2 separate regions of the Homo sapiens genome follow, and region 1 is linked to region 2. Evidence: promoter capture Hi-C in human tissues and cell types (Jung and others, 2019). All regions are on one chromosome and are shown on one strand. Each heading gives the region's core, a stretch centred on a gene start or on the middle of the fragment in contact. The rest is flanking DNA. Distances are from core to core; before and after follow the strand shown. Region 1 overlaps KCNMB4 (potassium calcium-activated channel subfamily M regulatory beta subunit 4). Region 2 holds the start of PTPRR (protein tyrosine phosphatase receptor type R).

The links. Contacts are between HindIII fragments. The study calls those that stand out against the background at their distance.
Region 1: a fragment that was not itself captured here is called in contact with the fragment with the promoter of PTPRR in region 2 in 2 of the 25 tissues and cell types used here (pancreas and sigmoid colon).

The regions. Positions count from the first base shown.
Region 1 is chr12:70,377,588-70,384,581 of GRCh38, reverse strand. All of the region lies in intron 1 of KCNMB4 (potassium calcium-activated channel subfamily M regulatory beta subunit 4), which reads right to left. Among named protein-coding and RNA genes, the nearest start is that of KCNMB4, 15 kb to the right of the region's middle. The HindIII fragment of the contact is 3,527 bases long and covers 1-3,267 here.
Region 2 is chr12:70,919,342-70,926,897 of GRCh38, reverse strand. PTPRR (protein tyrosine phosphatase receptor type R) reads left to right here and starts at 6,160. Exons shown (of 14, transcript NM_002849.4): 1 at 6,160-6,565. The coding sequence starts at 6,508. The HindIII fragment of the contact is 3,890 bases long and covers 3,819-7,556 here.

The sequences.
Region 1 (6,994 bases), core at 255-2,754, 540 kb after region 2:
GTAGCTTCTCAAATGTCTATGTGCCCAGCTCTGTCCTAGACTCTGTTAGTGAATCCCGAGGTGTTTCCCCAACGGGGACTGTGAGAGGCCTTTTCAGTCATTCATTATCGTGGTGACAAGTTGGGATGGGAGAGGGGTATTTAAGTAAAACAGCATGGTTTTGTAAGAAGGTAGTTTTATCTTAATACATCGATCCTCTCCATTGTAATATTTAGTCTCTTGTGTTTCACAGAGCATTTATTTTAAAGTAACAGTTCTCAGTTTTCTCTCACAAAAATAAGCCTTCTTTATTGGAGAAATTTAGAAGCTACAGGTGGTCAAAAATCGTATTTATGGTGTGCATTTTTTCCATTTTGTCATTTATCTTTGATCTTTGTATATAGTCTTTTTTCATATAAAAATGTTCAATTTACATGAACACAATAGGGTCTTGCAGATGGAATTAGTTAAGATGAGGTCACAGTGGATTAGAGTAGGCCCTAAATTCAATGACTGGTGTTTTTTGTTTGTTTTGAGATGGAATCTTGCTCTGTCACTCAGGCTGGAATGCAGTGGCACGGTCTCGGCTCACTGCAACTTCTGCCCCCTGGGTTCAAGTGATTTTCCTGCCTCAGCCTCCTGAGTAGCTGGGGTTATAGGTGCACATCATCAAGCCCAGCTAATTTTTATGTTTTTAGGAGAGACAGGGTTTCACCATGTTGGCCAGGCTGGTCTCAAACTCCTGGCCTCAAGTGATCCACCCAACTTGGCCTCCCAAAGTGCTGGGATTACAGGCGTAAGCCACCGCACCTGGCTGTACTGGTGTTTTTATAAGAGAAAGAAGAAAGGGATACGGAGACACATACAGAGGGAAAAAGGCCATGTGAAGACAGAGGCAGCAACTGGAGTGATGCAACTGCAGGCCAAGGAATGCAAGGATTGCAGGAAACAACCATTGCTAGGAAGAGGCAAGGAAGGGTGTTTTTCTAGAGCCTTCAGGGGAGCATGGACCTGTTTGATTTTGGACTTACAGACTTCAGAACTGTGGACAAATAAATCTCTGTTGAGTTAAGCAACCTCGTTTGTAGTACTTTGTTATGGCAGCCCTAAGACCCTAAGACATGTATTTTTCAGGATTTTGATATGTATTTCCAAGTTGACATGCAATTGCTCCTGCAACATGTTGCCACCAGCAGTGCACAAGACTGCCCACATCCCCATATTGCCACCAATTTAATATGTACCAACTTGATAGGCAGAAAAGGTATCTCAACATTGCATTAATTAATATTTCTTTTTTCCCCTTAGCTTTACTGAAATATACTTGACAAATAAAAATTGCACATATTTAAGGTATATAACGTGATGTTTTGATATATGTGTACGTTGTGAAATAACTGCCACAATCTAATTAGCACGTCCATCACCTTACATAGTTATGATCTGATTAGTACAGTCCTGTGCTGAATAATGACATTTCAGTCAATGATGAACTGCATTTATGACTGTGGTCTCATGAGATTATAATACTGTATTTTTACTGTACCTTTTCTATGTTTAAATACACAAAAACTTACCATTCTGCTACAACTGCCTATAGTATTCAGTACACTCATAGTACAGGTTTGTAGCCTAGGAGCAATAGGCTATATCATATAGCCTGGGTGTGTAGTAGGCTATACTATCTAGGTTTGTGTAAGTACACTCTATGATGTTCACAGGACAAAATCACCTTAAACAATGAACGACTGTATTTCTTTGATTTTTAGTGAGATACCACATATTTTTCATGTTTTTATTTGTAATTCTTTACTGAACTGCCTACGCATGTTCATGCCTAGTATTTTACTGAAGAGATGGTCTTTTATTGCTAAGAGTACTTCATATGTTGACTTTTTAATCATTTCCCCACCATGTTGCAAACATTTGTCCAAATTTATCATTTTTCCTTCAATTTTAATGTTCAAAAAAATGTGTAAGTTTTCCCTTATTATATCATTAATCAGTGTATTCCTTTATGATTTCTGTCCTTGCTACATGTTTAGAAAAGCTTTGCCCACCCCATATATACAATATTAATGTATAAAATATATATTTACCCAAATTTTATTTAGTACTTTCATAATTTATTTTTGTACCTTTAAATTTTTTTTTTTTTTTTTTTTTTTTTGAGACGGAGTCTCGTTCTGTCGCCCAGGCGGGAGTGCTGTGGCGCGATCTCCGCTCACTGCAAGCTCCGCCTTCCGGGTTCACGCCATTCTCCTGCCTCAGCCTCCAGAGTAGCTGGGACTACAGGCGCCCGCCACTGCGCCCGGCTAATTTTTTGTATTTTTAGTAGAGACAGGGTTTCACCGTGGTCTCGATCTCCTGACCTCGTGATCCGCCCGCCTCGGCCTCCCAAAGTGCTGGGATTACAGGCGTGAGCCACCGCGCCCGGCCACCTTTAAAATTTTATTCCATCAAAACTAAAATTTTAATTTTAATTAGATGTATATTTCTAAGTAAATATTTTCCAAATAACATTTTGATGATTCCTAGTATTTTCCAAACAAGTTTTTAAATTTAGAAAATTAGTTTTTTAAAATTTATTTCCAAAAAATAATAGGCAGTTTTAACACCACTTGCTGAATAATACATTGCTTTACAAGTTATTTGAAATGCTGAAATTTGCAAAGCAATCATTCATTATTATTTTTTGGGCAAGAGATTTATTGAAATATAATTCACATACCATCCAATTTACCCATTAAAAGTGTACAATTTAATGGTTTTTAGTAGATTGCACAGAGGTGTGCAACAATCATCACAATCAATTTTAGAATGTTTTCATTACACCAAAAAGACCCCTGTACCCTTTAGCTGTCATTCCCAATCTTCCCATGCCTTCTAGCTTTAGGCAACCACTAATCTACTTTCAGTCTCTATAGATTTCCTTCCTTATTCTGGACATTTCCTGTAAATGGACTCATATAACGTGTGTTTTTTTGTGGCTGGCTTCCTATACTTACCATATTTTTGAAGTTCATCCATATTGTATTAACACTTCATTCTTTTTACAGCCAAGTAATTTTCCATTGTATGAATTAGCATATTTCATTTATCCATTCATCAGTTGATGGATGTTTGGTTTGTTTCCACCTTTTAGCTATTATGAATAATGCTGCTATGAAGAGTCATGTACAAAGTTTCTGCATGGACATGTTTTCGTTTCTCTTGGATATATAATTAGGAAAAAGTTGCTTGGTCACATGGCAACTGTTTAGCGTTTTGAGGAACTGTCAAACTGTTTTCCAAAGTGGCTGTTATCTTTTTCATTCTTACATTCTTGTATGAAGATTCCAATTTATTTTGACAACACTTGTTATTGTCTTTTTTACAGCCATTCTAATGGATCTGAAGTGGTATTTCATTGGGGTTTTGATTTTCATTTCCCTCATGACTAAAAATGTCAAACATTTTTTCATGTGCTCATTGGCCATTTGGATACCTTCTTTGGAAAAAAAAAAACTATTCACATCCTTTGCCCACTTTTAAATTGGATTATTTGTCTTGTTGTGTTGTAAGCATTCTTCATTATTTTCTTGGTACTAGACACTTATCAGATACATTATTTGCAAATATTTTCTTTCTGTTACACTTGTCTTTTCATTTTATTGATGGTGTCCTTTGAAGCACAAATGTTTTTAATTTTAATTAAGTCCAACATATCTATTTGTCCTTTAGTTGCTTGTGCTTTTAGTATCATATTCAAGCATTAAAGTTTTAGCACTTATATTTAGGTCTCCCATCCATTATTTTAATGTGCAATCAGAGTTCAACTTCATTCCTTGGCATGTGGATATTCAGCTGTTCAAGCACCACTGATTGAAAAGACTGTTCTTTCCCTATTGAATGCTCTTGACACTCTTGTCAAAAATCAACCGTCCATGATGTATAGGTTTTTTTTTTTTTTTGGACTCTCAGTTCTATTCCATAGGTTGGTAGGTCCATCCTTATTCAGTATCACACAGTCCTGAGTACTGTAGCTTTGTTGTACAGGCACACTTCGTTTTATTGCTTGCTTTATTGTGTTTTGCAGATATTGCATTCTTTTACAGATGGAAGGTTTGTGGCAACCCTGAGAACAAGTCCATTGGCACCATTTTTTCCAACAGCATGCACTTACTTCATGTCTCTGTGCCACATTTTGGTAATTTTCACAGTATTTCAAACTTTTCATGATTATTATATCTGTTATGGTGATCTGTGATCAGTAATCTTTGATGTTACTATTATAATTGCTTTGGGGATGCCACAAACCATGCCCATATGAGGACAAAGTTAATCAATGAATGTGTGAGTGTTCTAAGTGCTCCACCAACCACCTGTTCCCCTGTCTCTCTACCTCTTCTGGGGCCTCTCTATTCCTGAAACAAAACAATATTGAAATTAGGCCAATTAATACCTCTACAACAGCCTCTAAGTGTTCAAGTGAAAGGAAGAGTCATTGTCTCTCACTCTAAATTAAAAACTAGAAATGACTAAGCTTAATGAGGAGAGCACATCAAAAGCTGAGACAGGCTGAAAGGTAGGCCTCTTCTGCCAAACAGCCAAGTTGTGAATGCAGAGGAAAAGCTTCTGCAAAAAAATTCAAAGTGCTACTCTAGTGAACACACGAATGATAAGAAAGTGAAACAGCCTTATTGCTGATATGGAGAAAGGTTTAGTGGTCTGGATAGAGGATCAAACCAGCCACAACATTTCTTTAAGCCAAAGCCTAATCCAGAGCAATGCTCTACCCTCTTTAATTTTATGAAGGCTGCCAGAAGTGAGGAAGCTACAGAAGCTAACAGAGGTTCATTCATGAGGTTTAAGAAAAGAAGCCATCTTCATAACATAAAAGTGCAAAATGGGCTGGGCATGGTGGCTCATGCCTGTAATCCCAGCATTCTGAAGGGAGAAGAAGGCAGATCACTTGAGCAAATTCAAGACCAGCCTGGGAAACATGGCCAAACCCCATCTCTACAAAAAATACAAACATTAGCCAGGTGTGGTAGAGTGCACCTGTAGTCCTAGCTACTTGGGAGGCTGAGGTGGGAGGATGGCTTGAGCTTGGGGTGGAGGTTGTAGTGAGCAGAGATCACACCACTGCACTCCAGCCTGGGTGACAGCCAGACCTTGTCTCAAAAAGAAAAAAAAAGTGCAAAGTGAAGCAGCAAGTGCTCATGTAGAAGCTGCAAGTTATCTAGAAGATCTAGCTTAGATAATTTATAAAGGTGGCTACACTAAACAACAGATTTTCACCATGGATGAAACAGCCCTCTATTGGAAGAAGATCTAGGACTTTCATAGCTATAAAGTCCAGGCTTCAAAGTTTCAAAGAACAGGCTGACTCTTGTTAGAGGCTAGTGTAGCTGGTGACTTTAAGCTGAAGCCAGTGCTCATTTACCATTTCAAAGATCCTACGGCCCTTAAAAATTGTGCTAAGTCTACTCTGCCTGTGCTTTAGAAATGGAACAAGAAAGCCTGGATGATAGCACATCAGTTTACAGCATGGTTTACTGAATATTTAAAGCCCACTGTTGAGACCTACTGTTCAGAAAAAAAGATTCCTTTCAAAATACTACTGCTAACTGACAGTGTACCTCATCACCCAAGAGCTCTGATGGAGATGTATGAGGAGATTAATGTTGTTTTCATGCCTGCTAACATGACATCCATACTGCAGCCCATGGATCAGGGAGTAAGTTCGACTTTCATGTCTTATTATTTAAAAAATACACTTTGGGCTGGGTGTGGTGGCTTACACCTGTAATCCCAGCATTTTGGGAGGCCGAGATGGGTGAATCACTTGAGGTCAGGAGTTCAAGACCAGCCTGATCAACATGGTGAAGCCTTGTCTCTACTAAAAATACAAAAATTAGCCGGGCATGGTGGCGTGCAACTGTAGTCCCAGCTACTCAGGAAGCTGAGGCAGGAGAATCACTTGAACCCAGGAGGCAGAGGGTGAAGCGAGCCAAGACCACACCATTGTACTCGAGCCTGGGTGGCACAGCGAGACTCCATCTCAAAAAGTAAATAAATAAAATAAAAAATAAAAAATACACTTCATAAAGCTGTAGCTATAGTGATTCCTCTGATGGATCTGGGCAAAGTAAATGAAAAACTTTCTGGAAGGGATTCAACAATTTGATGCCATTATGAACATTAGTAAATCATGAACGGAGGTTAAAATAACATTATAGGAGTTTGGAAGAAGTTGATTCCAACCCTCATGGATGACTTGTGGTGTTCAAGACATCAATGGAGAAAGTAACTACAGATGTGGTAGAAATAGGAAAGAACTAGAATTAGAAGTAGAGCTTGAAGGCCGGGCGCGGTGGCTCATGCTTGTAATCTTAGCACTTTGGGAGGCCAAGGCAGGCAGATCATTTGAGGTCAGGAGTTTGAGACCAGCCTGACCAACATGATGAAACCCTGTCTCTACTACCAATACAGAAAAAAAAATTAGCTGGGTGTGGTGGTGCATGCCTGTAATCTCAGCTACTCAGGAGGCTGACGCAGGAGAGTCACTTGAACTCGCGAGGTGGAGGCTGCAGTGAGACGAGATTACACCACTGCACTCCAGCCTGGGCAACAGGGCAAGACTCCATCTCAAAAAAAAAAAAAAAGAAGTAGAGCTTGAAGAGATTCTACTAGAATTAGAAGTATAGCTTGAATTTCTGGAATCCCATGATAAAATTTGAACAAGTGAGGATTTGCAAATCCTCATTTGGATGAGCAAAGAAAGTGGTTTCTTGAGATGGACTCCACTTCTGGTGAAAATGCTGTGAACACTGTTGAAATGACAAATGACAACAATTAACCTAGATATTACCTAAACTGAGTTGATAAAGCAGTGGAGGGATTTGAGAGGACTGACTCCAATTTTGAAAGGAGTTCTACTGTAAGTAAAATGCTATTAAATAGCATCACATGCAACAGAGAAACATTTTGTGGAAGAGTCAATTGATGCAGGAAACTTCGTTGTCTTAGC
Region 2 (7,556 bases), core at 4,911-7,410:
TTCTGATGAATGAGTCGAACTTAAAACCGTAAACAACTGCTTCATTGTCTGGGTGTATTAGTGGTTGTGTTATAGTCAATGGACATTTTTAGTAAGATTAACTCTTCATGTTATAGAGGTGCAGGTGTCTAACAAGAAAAAAAAATTTCTTCTGAAATGCTTTGCAACCACGAACTATAGACTAATAAACCACCCCATTCTCTATTATAGGCATCCAGCAGCAAGAATGAGTGAAAGAAATAAGTATTTTTAAAAAGTTTAAACTTTTATTCAATATTATTATTATTATTATTATTATTATTATTATTATTATTTTGAGATGGAGTCTTGCTCTGTTGCTCAGGCTGGAATTCAATGATGCTATCTCAACTCACTGCAACCTCCACCTCATAGGTTCAAGGGATTCTGCCACCTCAGCCTCCCGAGTAGCTGGGATTACAGGCATCCACCATCATGCCTGGCTAATTTTTGAATTTTCATAGAAACGAGGTTTCACCATGTTGGCCAGGCCAGGGCAGGTTTTGGACTCCTGACCTCAGGTGATCTGCCTGCCTTGGCCTCCCAAAGTGCTGGGATTACAGGTGTGAGCTACCGTGCCCGGCCTTAAACTTTTAGTTTTAAAGAATGAAAAGTCAACACCGGGGCCTGTTGTGGGGCAGGGGGAGCAGGGAGGGATAGCATTGGAGATATACCTAATGTAAATGACGAGTTAATGGGTGCAGCACACCAACATGGCACATGTATACATATGTAACAAACCTGCACGTTGTGCACATGTACCCTAGAACTTAAGGCATAATAAAGATATATATATATGCAAAAAAAAAAAGAATGAAGAGTCAGTGAGGGAGACATTAAGGCCTATATTTGGGAGATGTCCTTTTAAATCATCTTGTAATTATGTGAGAAAATAATGTAGAGAAATGAGAGCAAGATTAAATGATCTAATCAACCCACAGTTACAATCCCAGGATATACTTAGTGTCCCAGGCTATTGTGTGAACAAGTTGTTCCAAAGTGGCCTCATTCAAGGAAATCTAAAAGAATGGCCAACCATTGCAGAAAATGTATTTGAATGCTCAAAGTAGATAGTCTAAGCCATAACAGAGGGCTGTCACATCTGTGTGCTGCTCAGGATGATGGATAATATAAGTGCAGCCTGATTAGTGTCTTGGGATAAACAGAGAGCTAAAGCAGGAGAGTCAGAGGTTTGTAAATAAATCTATTACTGACATCTTGGATGAATCTGACCTTTGCAGTGCCAGAATAGATGACAATACAATACATTGGTACCAAGGGCTAGCTCCAAGAAAACTTTGTTCTTCGTTTTGAATAAAATTTTAATGATGAACCAATAGCAGAATCTATAGGTACATATAGCCTTTCTGCTTTTCATATTTTATGTTTTACTACAATAGCATAATTCACATATGCACAGAAAAGTATATCTGCCTTGTTTTAGGTACCTAATTTTTTTCCTTAGGATACATATTGCTGCCTTTGTGTGTGTGTATCAAATGCTTTAATTTAACAAAACTACAACTGTGTTAAGTTATAAAATGTAATTGTTGTTATCCATCTTGAAGTCTGTGTCTTGGGATAAGAACACTGTTTTCAATTTAAGTATTAAAATAAGTTCGGTCATTAAGCAGGGATGTTGTACAATACAGCTGATAACAGCATAGTGCTAGGGGTCACCATACCTGAGTTCTAATCCCAGCTTCACCACTTACCAACTGGATGGCTATAGGCAAATTACTAGCTTCGCTGAGCTTCAGTTTTCTCCTCTACTACAAAAAAAAAAAAAAAATAATACTTCACACAGCTCTTGTGAGACTTCAATGTGATAATATATATTTTTAGAATTTTAGTGCTTTTCCTCCCCTATTCTTATTGCCCCTTGCAATTTCATTGTTCTCTTCACTGTATGCTTATGAGAAAGGGTAGATCATTCTTCTTGTTATGGTTGGGAAAATACTAAAAAATAATAATGGTGAATTTATATACCTGAACATGGTATTTTCATCTGTGAATTTTGAATTCATTCCTTTTCATCCTGAGCTATATTCCACTCTGAATATAGCTTAATTCACATCAATTATTTACTTTGTAAAAAGAAATTATTTTTCTTCTTTTCTCCTCTTATAAAAGATAGCTCTCAGACAAAAGGAAACAGACTTTGGGATTGATAAAGTGGCTGCATAAAGGATGGGAAAGGGCAAGCACAGAACAAATCTTAGTGAGGTGTTTATAACTGTTACCTATTGCTCCCTTACATGTTCAGAAGTTCCTTGAATCCATTTTGCTGCTTTATATCTCTGCCACTGGCTCACACAATTCCCTGGCCTTTCTCTTCATGTAGAGCAGTTAGAACCTACTTATCCAGCCAGACTCAGTTCGTTTCCTGTTGCCCACCAGTTTCTTGCCTGCTGCCCATCCCCTCCTCTGCTCCCACCCTCCATAGAAGAAATCATTTCCTCCATTCTTCTCCATTCTATCTTAAGCATCTTTCTAACACAGTTCCTCTAAGCATGATTTTACTTGCTGTCTTTGTTCACTAGATGCTAGGGCCCAGAGTCCACTGCCACAAGCAGTGTCTCTTGTTCTCCTGGAGACAGTCTTCTATGAGTGTTCCTCAACACAGAGCTTTACTGTGGGGCCAGGCATCTCATGCCCAGCCCTGATCTAATCATCTAATTCTAGTGAGCAACCTACAACTGAGTGTGTGTGTGTCTGTGTGTGTGTGTGTGTGTGTGTGTTATTAGAGGTAGTATAATATAGTGGTTTGGTATCAAATTATCAGATGTACATCTTAATTCTATCAATTTACTTTTTAACTGATTACTTACTACTTGATTTTGGGCAAGTTACTTCTCCATGCCTCAACTATATTATCTCTAAAATGAGATCATTATAGTATCCTTTTGTAGAAATATTATAATGTTTAAATAGGACATCCAAATGCTTAGAATAGAACCTGGCACACAGGAAGCACAGTCAATGTTAGCCATAATTATACTTAAATAATAGTAATCTAAATAACTTAAGTAGGAGATCCTTATAATCAATGGATCTGATTTCTCAATTTAAAGTGTCTTAAGGAAAGATGGCTGACATGAATAATTTTCATCCATTTATAGAGAAGTAAATATGGATGCTCATAATGATTAAATCTGTTTTGAAGGCAGGCTCTGAAAAGCTTCTTTCTTGCATAAATTTTCTCTAAGACTCACCTCATAAGAAAAAGAAATTATGCATCTTATGTGGAGGAAAATTCCATATGATATTTTTTATTTATCTTGTAAAATGTAAATGATTCTTTTATGACATAGCTCTGTAGGCCACTACTAATTTGTATAGTTCTCTCATAGTAATTTCCATGCTTCTTTGAATTACAGCTAACTTTTTAAAACCCTGATGCAGTGTTTTAACCAAGCTTTTTTTCCAAAACACCAAGTCACCTTCACTAGCATTAGATCACAGTTAAGGAAAAACAGCACCTATCGACTCAGAATATTTCTGTATGAGTTAAGTGGTTGACTTTTTCACTAATTGGCTAATTCATTCATTGCTGTTTGACTTCACGAACAGCAATGAGTGAATTAGCCAATTAGTGAAAAAGTGAATTGAAGCCGTTACAAGTATGATATTAGATTGACTCACATAGGAATATGACCTTTTTCGTTACTTTATCATTTCTAAGTAAATTAATAATGAATGTCTAGTCACCAAAATTACAGCCCACTCAGGGTTATTTTTACCATGCTGAACTAACTATTCTAATGATATATCCAGCCAAATTGGAAATTGGAAATTTTTGCTGCTAACGGAATTTTCATGCATAGTTTAACAATTCAGCTACCTGCAGCCCTGAACAAAATACATTGCCAGCAGGATGCTTTTTGGCAAAGTCATAGTCAATTATAATAATGGGAATTTTAAATGCCCCACCAATAAATGTTGGAATTATCTGTGGAAAAGGAAGGGGTTCAGAACATTACTGCAGCATTGTTTCATTACCATAAGTAAGTATATTTTATTCTTGGAGATCTATGTAAGTTTGATAATTAGTTATTTTAGGAAACAAGAAAATAAGAAAAATAGACCTATTGTAAGTGGGATACAATTATTTTTCCCTAACCTCCAGCCCTGCAGCATTTCTAGTAACAGATGTTAGATGAGAAGAGTTATTCTTCTAAGCTTTACAGAATGCTAAATAAATTATCTCAAAGGTTGACTCAGTAAGAATTTCAAAGAGTTAATTGTCAGTATTGAACTTTGTCAACTATCATTTTCATTTATTCATTTTTGAGTATCTATTTTGCATGAGGCATTGCTCTAGGGAGTTGGGACATATCAATAAAGTCATCAAAGTTCTTCAACATTGGAGCTCAAATTCTGTTTTGCGGGGGGGAGTAGGGAAATAGATACTAAACAATAGATTTTATAAGTAATTATTTTGGTTTGTTAGAAAGTGATACGGGAAAAGCAAACTGGAGGACAGTGAATCAGGAATAGGAGAAGAGGTTGCAGCTTAGAGTGGTTTGGGATGAAATGATAGTGCCACAGAAATGGAGTGTGCCACACGCATGGGGGAGTAGGGGGTGGAGCACGTTGCTAGAGAGGGGCTAGACATGGAGATATGTCTCTATTTTCAGCAGAGAAGGCCTGTCAAGATATTAAAAGTACATCTCATTGTCCCCTTCTCCCACTTGTTGGAGTGCTTCCTGGCCTTGTCTCTCAGAGCTGAAGATGACATAAATCATAAAAGAAATAAATGGTACCGCCTGGGCTCTCTGATCTTATAAGGTCCCACCTAATTTAAGCTCTGGTGGATAGCCTATTTCCCATTAGTTGTCTCAATTCACAGAGGATGGAGAAAGAAAGCACTGAATGAGATGTGCAGCTCAACTCAATGGGCACTTGTTAGCCCCAATTATTTGGCTAGGACAACTTTATTCAAGTTAATGGAATACAAAACTCAGCAGTTCTTATGGAGACTTCAATGTGCTGTAGAACAAACCACAGATAAATGAACTGTCTGAAAGAATAATATGAGGCACGGCTAAACAAGTGTTGTGGAAGAGAAAGATCACTGTAATCTAGAGTTAGTTAGAGTTAGGGCTTTCTGGAAAAGTGAGACCAACATTACACCTTCGAAAACTAGTGTGGTGGTGGTGCAAGTGGAGGAAAATGGGAAAGAGGCAACAGTGTCCATAAAGACACAGAGGCAGAAAGGGCAGAGGCCCTGGGATAGTTAAAAGAGAAGTCTAGCTGAGGGACTTCTTGACTTGACTAGCAGCAATTAGCCATGACTAATAAGGCTTTCCACACTCCAAAGACTTAGATGGAGGGATAAAAAACCATCTAATGGCAGACTGTGGTAGCCTCCCTAGAGACACAGAGCTGGGCCGGATGAGTCCAGGCACTGACGTGATCCATTATCTTTCACCTTAAAGAGTAAAAGGGAAACTAAAGTTAATTACCTCCACGAAACAAAAAGGTGCCTTCTTGTGCTTCAATTACATGGATATATTCTACTAGTCTAAAAGTATCTTCTCACTTCTTTCTGTCACTGTGAGGACTTGAGTCAGAAGAAAGTTTAAATACAGTCATTGAGCTGGAAAGAGTGGAAAGAGAAGCAAAGAGGGGGAAGCTGTAGGAAGGACGAAGTCACCCCCAAGATACATGGTTACTGCTTACACCAAGCAAGCTGCCTTGGGAACGCTTCCCCCGAGCAGCCAGAATGCTCAGCAGTGGAAGACACCTCTATTCCTGTAGGCGAGTCCTGGGAAGCTGGTCAATCTGCAAATGCCAATTCCCAGCAGTGAGCTCGGTCCACGTGTAAATCAAGATTTGGGGAAAGAGTAGGGTGGGTGGCATGGTTGACAATGTCATCAGCTCCCTCCTCTGACTCCTGTGGTCGTGCCCCCATCTACTCTCACTCAGCTACACCCCACCTTCGGATTTGTGATGGACGCTGGGTCCCTAGTAACCACAGCAAGTGTCTCCCCCGCACTTCCCCCTTCCCCACCCCCACCCCCACCCCCAACCACCACCCCAGCGATGGAGCCTACTCTGCTCCAAGCCGCCGCTAAGACCCGGAGAAGCGGAATTTCACTTTGAAATTCCCTTGCCTCGTGAGGGCCGGCGCTGGGCATGCTCAGTAGCCGCGGCGCTGCTGCTGGGCTGCTGGGCTGGCGCGGAGTCCACCCTGCCGTCTCCGCCTTGGCTTCTGGGCGTCCAGAAGGCCAGGCATTTGCCGCCTCTGAGCGCTTCTGTTCCCCTTACCCGCAACCTCCTACTGCTCTTCCTCTCTCCCTCTCTTAGGGAGGTTGAAGCTGGTGCTGGTTTCTGTCGGCGCCACAGACTGACTGCTCTGCAAACCCCAGCCGAGGACCTGAATCCCGGAGACTAGAAGACCCTTGGCGGTGGCTCTTTCTAATAGCACTTTACCTGAAGTGGGGTCGTGGTGGAGTTTCTCCTCCACCTCTCAATGCAAACACTATGCGGAGAGCAGTCTGCTTCCCTGCGCTGTGCCTGCTCCTTAATCTTCACGCTGCAGGTAAGGGGTTGCCAGGCTTAGAGCCGGAGCTGTGCATGAGATGGGAAACTGCACATGCTTAAGGACTCTAGGAAAAGCTTGCCTTGCGAAGAAAGCCTTTCTAAAAAGGTAAAACAGGACAGTACCTGACAGGGAAGGGGTGAGGGAGTCGTGCACCTGTTGGAAAACTGAGGCCGAAAACTTAACCTAAAATTAGCTCTTGATTTTTCTTTACTTTATACGAAAATAGTGAACATTTTCAATATGAATACAGGTTTGCTCCCCCCTTCGCCTCCCCTCCGTCTAGATTCCCTGCTCTTGTTTCTAGGCTATGCACTTAACTGTCAATTTTTCAGGAGAGGGATAAGACATCCTGCTAGATGTAACCTTTTCTACTGCAGCGGCTACTACATTCATAAGGTCTCTTGGTCTAGCGAGCGCTCATAGGAAGGCATTGGCTGTAACCTGATGGACCACATCTCCGCCCAAAAGATCGAAATACATGGTTCACATTAGTGATGCTGCACCAGGCTCCTTTGGCCCCTGCTCTTGTCACTCGAATTTTCTAAGCCAATAAGAGGAAGAAAAGGTTTCAAATAGAATCCTCTTGTCTCTTTCAGCACCGTGGCTAGCGTCCGCTGGCATATTAAAAAAAAAAAAAAAAAAAAAAAAAAAAAAAACAATTACAGTTCCAAAGCTGACAACCCTGGGTTAGGCACTGTCCCTCGGACAGATTTGATAAGGTGTAACCAAGAGTAACAGTGAGACTGCTCCCAAATATAAATAGATTTGAGGCACCAGAATCAATATCAAGTCTCGTGAGGAAGCAAACCTTGGGAAGTACCTGAGAGATATTATATGTGGTGTCCCTGCTTTTTGCATACATAGCACCTCTATTTAATGCAGACAGACTTGCTAGGCTGAATTCCTTATCATTGTCACACACACATGAACCAAAATAAAATATGGCAGGGAGATTTTAGAAACCCTACTGTGACAGCAGTTGTCCATG